2 separate regions of the Homo sapiens genome follow, and region 2 is linked to region 1. Evidence: promoter capture Hi-C in human tissues and cell types (Jung and others, 2019). All regions are on one chromosome and are shown on one strand. The core of a region is centred on a gene start or on the middle of the fragment in contact, and the rest is flanking DNA. Distances in the headings are between cores, read along the strand shown.

Region 1 (4,513 bases), core at 248-2,747:
GAGGTGGAGGTTGCAGTGAGCTGAGATCACACCACTGCACTCCAGCCTGTGTGACAGAATGAAGACTCCATCTCAAAATAGAAAAAAAATACATACCGATCTATGATAAAAGTTTAAATTATAAATTAGGTACAGTAAGAGATTAACAATAATAATGAAATAGAACAATTATAATACTATACTATCATAAACGGTATGTAAATGTGGTCTCTCTCTGTCTCAGAATATCTCAGTGTACTGTACTCATCTATTTTTGGCCATGATCAACCCAAACTTCAGAAAGCAAAACCTTGGATAAGGGGATGACTGTAGTCCAGCTCTGCTTTATTCATATTGAAGATGAGGTTTTGGATTACAATATCCTCCAGTGGGATTCACCCTTTGTTGCTGCGAAATGGCCTTTTAAAGTGTTTAACCTTCTTGCTTTAAATATAGCACTCCTGACATCACCATAGCTATACCAGCTGTCTTCTGCTGTTTCCATAGCATATGCTTTTCCACTATTTTACTTCCTACTTCTCTATGACTTCATTTAACGTTCACCTCATATAAGCAGTATTCAGTTAAGTTTTTAAAAAATAGGCCCATATGGGCTGGGCACAGTGGCTCACACCTGCAATCCCAGCACTTTGGGGGGCCAAGGCAGGCGGATTACCTGAGGTCAGTAGTTCGAGACCAGCCTGGCCAACATGGTGAAACCCCGTCTCTACTAAAAATAAAAAAAAATTACCCAGGCATGGTGGTGGGTGCCTGTAATCCCAGCTACTCAGGAGGCTGAGGCAGGAGAATCACCTGTACCTGGGAGGCGGGGTTTGCAGTGAGCCGAGATTGTGCCATTGCACTTCAGCCTGGGCAAGAAGAGCGAAACCCCATCTCAGAAAAATAAAATTAAAAAAATGCCCGTATGACAGTCTTTGCCTTTGGGTTAGATCCATTATCTTCCTCCACTGTTTGCTTTCTTGCTCAGAAGGCCAATAAGTGATAGGGGTGGTGACTAGAGTAGTTTAGCTGCCCAGCAGCCAAGCCCACCCCCACTTTATCCACCAGATCAACACTCACCATTTATCTCTCTGCGGACTACAACACACATTTTATCACAGTTCATAATGGCAAAGATGTTCGAAGTCACATCCCAAGCGCGTCGTCCAGGGAAACGCTCTATCAAGAGATGAACCACCTCTGCCCAGCTGGCTGTCTCGACCTGGTCCCAGGTGATGGGCATGGTGCCAGTACTGAGCTCAGTCAGTAAGAGCTGCTTGAACCGTTGTAGCTCCTCATGGCTCACGTTTCTCATGTACAGCATGACCCCATTTTCACATGGGGAGCCGGGGTAGCAAGAGAATGTCCAGGGCGGAATATGAGAACTGTGAGTGGAGGAGGATGAAAAGGGAATGGGGGTGTCAGAGGGTGGATTCACGTCACTCATCTTTAGTCAAGGCAGAGAACACCTCAGTGTCCACGATAAAGACAACCGATTGGAAGAGAGAAACACGAGACCTGCAGAGACATAAAACAATAAAACAAGAAGATGAAAACACTACCCAAGAAAACAGATTCGTGTAATGCTTACTTGGCAGGTATTCTGCGTGCCGGGTACTCCCTTTACCTCCTTTCCTCAAAGATTCTCTGCCCTATGGAAAAACTGAAGATGCATGGAATGTTTGGGATTAGTCCATTAGACTAATGGATTGTTTGTAGTTTCTATTCTCCATGACTTCTTTTGGGGAAGAGGCAAGCAAAATATCAAAGCCTTCACAAAAGGTTTAGCGAAAAGAAAAATTAGAAGCAGGTAAAATAATTCAGTGAAGCTAAAATCTAGAAAATATATGGTTGGTTAGAAGGCTCCATTAGATTAAAAGTGATCTCAAATTCAACAAAGTTTTTATTCTTAAAAAAATGGATCATGTATTAGAGAGATGCAAATCAAAACCACAACGAGATGTCATCTCACACCAGTCAGAATGGTGATTATTAAAAAGTCAAGCAATAACAGATGCTGTATTCTTAAAAAATGGATCATGTATTAGAGAGATGCAAATCAAAACCACAACGAGATGTCATCTCACACCAGTCAGAATGGTGATTATTAAAAAGTCAAGCAATAACAGATGCTGGTGAAGTCGCAGAGAAAAAGGAACACTTATACTCTGTGTGTGGGAGTGTAAATTAGTTCAACTACTCTGGATGACAGTGGGGCAACTCCTCAAAGACCTAAAAAGAGAACTACCATTCAACTCAGCAATCCCATTACTGGATATATATCCAAAGGAATATAAATCATTCTATTATAAAGACACATTCCTGTGTATGTTCATTGCAGCACTACTCACAATAGCAAAGTCATGGAATCAACCTAAATGCCCATCAGTGATAGACCGGATAAAAAAATGTGGTACATAAACACCATGGAATACTATGCAGCCATAAAAAAGAATGAGATCATGACCTTTGCAGGAACATAGATGGAGCCAGAGACCATTATTCCTTAGCAAACTAACACAGGAACAGGAAACCAAATACCACATGTGCTCATTTATAAGTGGTAGCTAAACGATGAGAACACATGGACACATAGAGGGAACACCACACACTGGAGTCTGCTAGAGGCTGGAGGGTGGGAGGAGGGAGAAGATCAGGAAAAATAACTAATGGGTACTGGGATTAATACCTGGGTGATGAGATAACCTGTACAACAAACCCACCCCCATAACACGTTTGCCTATATAACAAACCTGCACATGTACCCCTGTATCTAAAAGAAATGTAAAAAAGAAATAAAATAAAAAGGATCATGGGTGTATTTTTGTCCCCCCTGCCCCAACTTCCAATAATAGTTTATTTATTTATTATTTATTTATTTACTTAGAGACAGAGTCTCACTCTGTTTCCCAGGCTGGAGTGCAGTGGTGTGATCTCGGCTCACTGCAACCTCCACTTCCCTGGTTCAAGCAATTCCCTTGCCTCAGCCCCCTGAGTAGCTGGGATTACAGGCACCTGCCACCATGCCTGGCTAATTTTTTTGTATTTTTAGTATAGATGGGGTTTCACTATGTTGGCCAGGCTGGTCTCAAACTCCTGACCTCAAGTGATCCACCCACCTCAGCCTCCCAAAGTGCTGGGATTACAGGTGTGAGCCACTGCACCTGGCCAATAGCTTCTTCTTTAACACTTCTCCCTCTTATAACTTATGTGACACCCAAACATCTGGATAAACTTGTTTAATTGACTCAGTCCTCCCTTGGGTCCAGAGTAGCTGGGCTTGGTCCCAGGACAAAGGTGATATGCTCCTGGGTGGCTGACTCTTGCTAGTGCTCCTTCCGTCCAGTGGGTGGCGCTGCATGGAGGAGCCTAACACAGTCACACATTTTCTACCTCTACTTATTCCATGACCATTGCTGACCACGTTCCAGCCACAGTGAGCTGCAGCTTTAAGAAATTTGCAGGACTGGCTGGGTGCGGTGGCTCACGCCTGTAATCCCAGCACTTTGGGAGGCCAAGACAGGTGGATCACTTCAGGCCAGGAGTTCCAGACCAGCCTGGCCAACATGGTGAAACCCTGCCTCTATTAAAAACACAAAAAGTAGCTGGGCGTGGTGGTGGGTGCCTGTAATCCCAGCTACTCGGGAGGCTGAGGCAGGAGAATTGCTTGAACCCAGGAGGCAGAGGTTGCAATGAGTGGATATCATGCCACTGCACTCCAGCCAGGGTGATAGAGCAAGACCCTGTCTCAAAAAAAAAAAAAAAAAAAAAAAAAAGAAAAGAAAGAAAGAAAGGAAAAGAAAAGAAATTTGCAGGGCAAGGGAGGATGTTGGCAGTTACATCATCGTTTTGCTTTACTTTCATTCACTGCTGAAGGGAACATAAGCAGGGGGAACCTATCTGAAAGGCCTTTTCACAATACTACCAATCGTGTGCACTGCCATGGAATTCAGTAGTTCTACTCCTAAAACTGCAACCTGAGGCCAGGTGTGGTGGCTCATGCCTGTAATTTCAGCACTTTGGGAGGCTGAGGTGGGAGGATCACGAGGTCAAGAGATTGAGACCATCCTGGCCAACATGGTGAAAACCCGTCTCTACTTAAAAAAAAAAAAAAAAAAAACAAATATTGGCTGGGCGTGGTGGCATGCACCTGTAGTCCCAGCTACTTGGGAAGCTGAGGCAGGAGAATCACTTGAAACCAAGAGGGGGAGTTTGCAGTGAGTGAGCCAAGATCCCGCCACTGCACTCCAGCCTGGGCAACAGAGCGAGACTCCATCTCAAAAAAAACAAAAACAAAAAAGGCCAGGCGTGGTGGCTCACGCATGTAATCTCAGCAATTTGGGAGGCTGAGGTGGGCAGATCACAAGATCAGGAGATTGAGACCATCCTGGCTAACACGGTGAAACCCCGTCTCTACTAAAAATACAAAAACTTAGCCGGGCATGGTGGCAGATGCCTGTGGTCCCAGCTGCTTGGGAGGCTGAGGCAGGAGAATGGCATGAGCCTGGGAGGCAGAGCTTGCAGTGAGCCAAGA
Region 2 (4,794 bases), core at 1,481-3,980, 71 kb before region 1:
GACAGTTGGATAACTGAATAGACTAAAAATAATTGAATCATATACTTCAGGAGGGTCAACTTTATGGTATATAAAATCCTAATTATATCTCAACAAAAAAGCCTCAATCAACAGTTTCTCAGGGAAGCCTGCTCTTACATCTTTGGCTGTTTAATCATCATCCTGCAAAGTTATAGCACTTTAGACTCATCTTCATTCCATAAGGTTTAGCTAATGTGTAAGTCTGGATGATAAATGCCATGAAGGCAGCTGGGCACAGCGGCAAATGCCTGTAATCCCAGCACTTTGGGAGGCTAAGGTGGGCAGATCACGAGATCAGGAGTGCGAGACCGACCTGGCCAATATGGTGAAACCCCATCTCTACTAAAAATACAAAAATTAGTCGGGCATGGTGGCAGGCCTGTAATCCCAGCTACTCGGGAGGCTGAGACAGAAGAATCGCTTGAACCTGGGAGGCAGAGGTTGCACTGAGCCGAGATACCGCCACTGCACTACAGCTTGGGCGACACAGCGAGACTCCTTCTCAAAAAAAAAAAAAAAAATGCCACGAAGGCAAGACATGTTTTTCTTACCACTGTAATTCCAGCACAATTCTTCAATGGCAGGTATTCATGTACATATTAGTTGATAGAAGGAATTACAAAAATAATTACTACCACTTAAGTTTGAAGACAGCATTTGACTACTCTTGGCCATATGTTTAACATCCATCAAACAAAGTTGTGATTGATTCGAGTCCCCTAGAATTATGGGTTCTTTAGAATTTTGTCTTCATAGTATCTGACTGTAGATAATCACAGTGAACTTGCGTAGCTCTATCCATGGTACTGATCAAGAGCTTGAAGGGAAGGGGTTGACACCAGAGACAAATGAGATTGAAGAAAGGCAATCTAAACTACATACCCTTGAAATCTAAACTACTTACACTTCTTTCACCCAACTTTCTTCCAGGAGGGCAACCAAGGAATACATCTATTTTCCTCACCTTGTTCTTCTGTCTCTGCTGCTGTGGCACCTTCTTGTTCCATAGCTTGTGAAATTTCTGCAAAAGAATGAATTCCAACATACTTGTGTTTATTATTCGAGTCAGAGATGTCAGACACCCCCAAGATAAGCTTAGTCATGCCATATTTATTTTCTGGCCAGTTGAAAACATGACAACCACCGGCTCAACTAGAAGACAGAGTGCACTGGTACAATGAGCACTAATTCAAAGCTTGAGGGTGAGGGTCCTAGGCTCATTTCTCCTTGAAGAGACTTGCACAAGTTATTAAAATGAGGGGTAGGTCGGGCGTGGTGGCTCATGCCTGTAATCCCAGCACTTTGGGAGGCCGAGGTGGGCAGCCGAGGTCACGAGTTCGAGACCAGCTTGGCCAATATGGTGAAACCCCATCTCTACTAAAAATACAAAAATTAGTCGGGCACAGTGGCAGGTGCCTGTAATCCCAGCTACTCGGGAGGCTGAGACAGAAGAATCGCTTGAACCTGGGAGGCAGAGGTTGCACTGAGCTGAGATCCCGCCACTGCACTACAGCTTGGGCGACACAGCGAGACTCCTTCTCAAAAAAAAAAAAATGCCATGAAGGCAAGACATGTTTTTCTTACCACTGTAATTCCAGCACAATTCTTCAATGGCAGGTATTCATGTACATATTAGTTGATAGAAGGAATTACAAAAATAATTACTGCCACTTAAGTTTGAAGACAGCATTTGACTACTCTTGGCCATATGTTTAACATCCATCAAACAAAGTTGTGATTGATTCGAGTCCCCTAGAATTATGGGTTCTTTAGAATTTTGTCTTCATAGTATCTGACTGTAGATAATCACAGTGAACTTGCGTAGCTCTATCCATGGTACTGATCAAGAGCTTGAAGGGAAGGGGTTGACACCAGAGACAAATGAGAATGAAGAAAGGCAATCTAAACTACATACCCTTGAAATCTAAACTACTTACACTTCTTTCACCCAACTTTCTTCCAGGAGGGCAACCAAGGAATACATCTATTTTCCTCACCTTGTTCTTCTGTCTCTGCTGCTGTGGCACCTTCTTGTTCCATAGCTTGTGAAATTTCTGCAAAAGAAGAATGAATTCCAACATACTTGTGTTTATTATTTGAGTCAGAGATGTCAGACACCCCCAAGATAAGCTTAGTCATGCCATATTTATTTTCTGGCCAGTTGAAAACATGGCAACCACTGTCTCAGCTAGAAGACAGAGTGCACTGGTACAATGAGCACTAATTCAAAGCTTGAGGGTGAGGGTCCCAGGCTCATTTCTCCTTGAAGAGCCTTGCACAAGTTATTAAAATGAAGGGTAGGTTGGGCGTGGTCGTTCGCACCTGTAATCCCAGCACTTTGGGAGGCCGAGGCGGGCAGATCACCAGAGGTCAGGGGTTCGAGGCCAGCCTGACCAATATGATGAAACCCCATCTCTACTAAAAAATACAAAAAGTTAGCCAGGGATGGTGGCACGTGCCTGTAATCCCAGCTACTCAGGAGGCTGAAGCAGGAGAGTAACTTGAACTTTGGAGGCAGAGGTTGCAGTAAGCTGAGATCATGCCACTGCACTCCAAAAATAATAATAAGAATACAAAAATTAAATGAGGGGCAAAACCTACAGTTAAGAATTAAGGATCTTAGGATCTTAGAGCCAGATTTTGTGGTACATGCCTGTAGTCCCAGCTACTTGGGAGGCTGAGGCAGGAGAATCACTTGAGTCCAGCAGTTTGAGGCTGTAGTGAGCTACGGTCATGCTTGTGGATAGCCACTGCATTGTAGTCTCAGCAATACAGCAAAACTCTCTCTCTTAAAAAAAGAATTGGATTTGAATTAGACACAGGATTCAAATGTGAGTTGTCATAAACTATTTGTAAGATCTTCATCAAGTTACTGAAGTTAAATGTTTCTGTATGCTCATCTAGAAAAGCAAAGAAATTGTTCTTATGTTGTCGAGTTGCTGTGGAGATGATTTGGTAGAGTAATAACACAGCCTCTGGCATATAGTAGCTACCACTGACTGAGAATAACCACTATATATATTTATCAGGAAATAGTTACCATGTGAGGCTAAATACAAATTCGTCTTAGGATATATGAGAATAGATTTGCCATTTTAAAGAACAATCATTAGGGTGGTCTTTGTCTTGTCAATTAGAGAAAAATTATAGATTTTTTAAAATCACAAACAGAATAAAAACCACTTAAGGATTTTTAAGCATGGGAATCAAGTTACAGGCGTAAATTTTTAGATCGCCTTGGTTATTGTATGAAAAATTGATTGTATGTAAAAGTGGATTGCGTTTGGGACGCAAATGAAATGCCTTCAATAACCCATTGTGTATATACACCACAGAAATACAGAAGATGGGAAGAACTGTGTAAAAATGGGTCATATATTACGGGTAGAGACCATATGATCTTCTGATTTGCTAGATATATGGTGGAGAAAATAAATATTAAAAAATACAGCTACTAAGGAAGTCAAGGCACAAGAACTGCTTAAACCTGGGACGTGGAGGTTGCAGTGAGCCAAGATTGCGCGACCGCACTCCATCCTGGGAGACAGAGTGAGACAAACAAACGAGCAAAAAACGACTAAGCTTTTGGTGTAAACGACCAGGCACATAGTGACGCTATTTACCGATATGGAAAACAGTGAAGGCAGATATCAAACCAACGCTCCACCCAACAGCAGAAAACATGCCCTTCTCAACTGCAAACAGACCTTCTTCAAGATAGATACATCAGGCATAAAACATGCTTCAAGTTTATGTTCCTTGAAATTATACAAAGTATGCTCTCTTAACACAATGAAATAAGATTAGAAATCAGTCAGAAAATTTGAAAATTTCCAAATATATGGAAGTGAAGCCACACGATCCTCAACAGGTCAAAGGGGAAACAAAAGGGAATTAAATACTTTGAAATGAGTGGAAACAAAACACAGCAATATTTACAGCGTGTAGGTAGAGCCGTGCATAAAGGAAAATTTATAGCCATAAATGCCTAAGAAAGATCTGAAATATAATATAACTTCCCACCTTAAAGTAGGAAAGAACCCCCTTTTGGGGTTAGTGAGTAGCAAACTCACCCCAAAACAGGCAGAGAAAGGGAATAAAGAAATAAACAAAATACAAGATGGAAATACCATAGAGAAAACAAACCTACCAGTTTGTTCTTTGAAAAGAACAAAATTGACAGACCTTTAGCCAGACTGACCAAGGAAAAAAAGAGACAGCTAAAATTACTGGAGTCGGGAATGAAAGAGGGTCACAACTAACAGCCTTAAAGAAATGAAAAGGATTTTGGCCGGGCGCGGTGGCTCACGTCTGTAATCCCAGCACTTTGGGAGGCCGAGGCGGGCGGATCACGAGGTCAAGAGACTGAGACCATCCTGCCTAACACGGTGAAACCCCATCTGCACTAAAAATACAAAAATTAGCTGGGCATGGTGGCGCATGCCTGTAATCCCAGCTACTTGGGAGGCTGAGGCAGGAGAATCACTTGAACCCAGGAGGCGGAGCTTGCAGTGAGCTGAGATCGCGCCACTGCACCCCAGCCTGGGCAACAGAGCAAGACTCCCTTAAAAAAATGTGGTGTATATACACAATGGGTTATTCAGCTCTAAAACATACAGGAAATTCTGTCATTTGCTACAACATTGAGGAACCTAGAGGACATTATGTTAAGTGAAGTAAGCCAGGCACAGAGAAATACCAGAGGATCTGACACGTGGAATCTAAAAATGTCGAACTCAGAATTGGAGGGTAGAACAGTGGTTACCAGAGGCT

What was found. Contacts are between HindIII fragments. The study calls those that stand out against the background at their distance.
Region 2: a contact is called between a fragment that was not itself captured here and the fragment with the promoter of NLRP8 in region 1, in 4 of the 25 tissues and cell types used here (pancreas, psoas muscle, spleen and 1 more).

The regions. Positions count from the first base shown.
Region 1 is chr19:55,944,816-55,949,328 of GRCh38, reverse strand. NLRP8 (NLR family pyrin domain containing 8) reads right to left here and starts at 1,497. Exons shown (of 10, transcript NM_001433706.1): 1 at 1,060-1,497. The coding sequence starts at 1,426. The HindIII fragment of the contact is 14,722 bases long and covers 1-4,513 here.
Region 2 is chr19:56,016,623-56,021,416 of GRCh38, reverse strand. It overlaps NLRP5 (NLR family pyrin domain containing 5), which reads right to left. Exons shown (of 15, transcript NM_001433705.1): 5 at 2,019-2,075; 6 at 986-1,042. Among named protein-coding and RNA genes, the nearest start is that of NLRP5, 32 kb to the right of the region's middle. The HindIII fragment of the contact is 3,128 bases long and covers 1,167-4,294 here.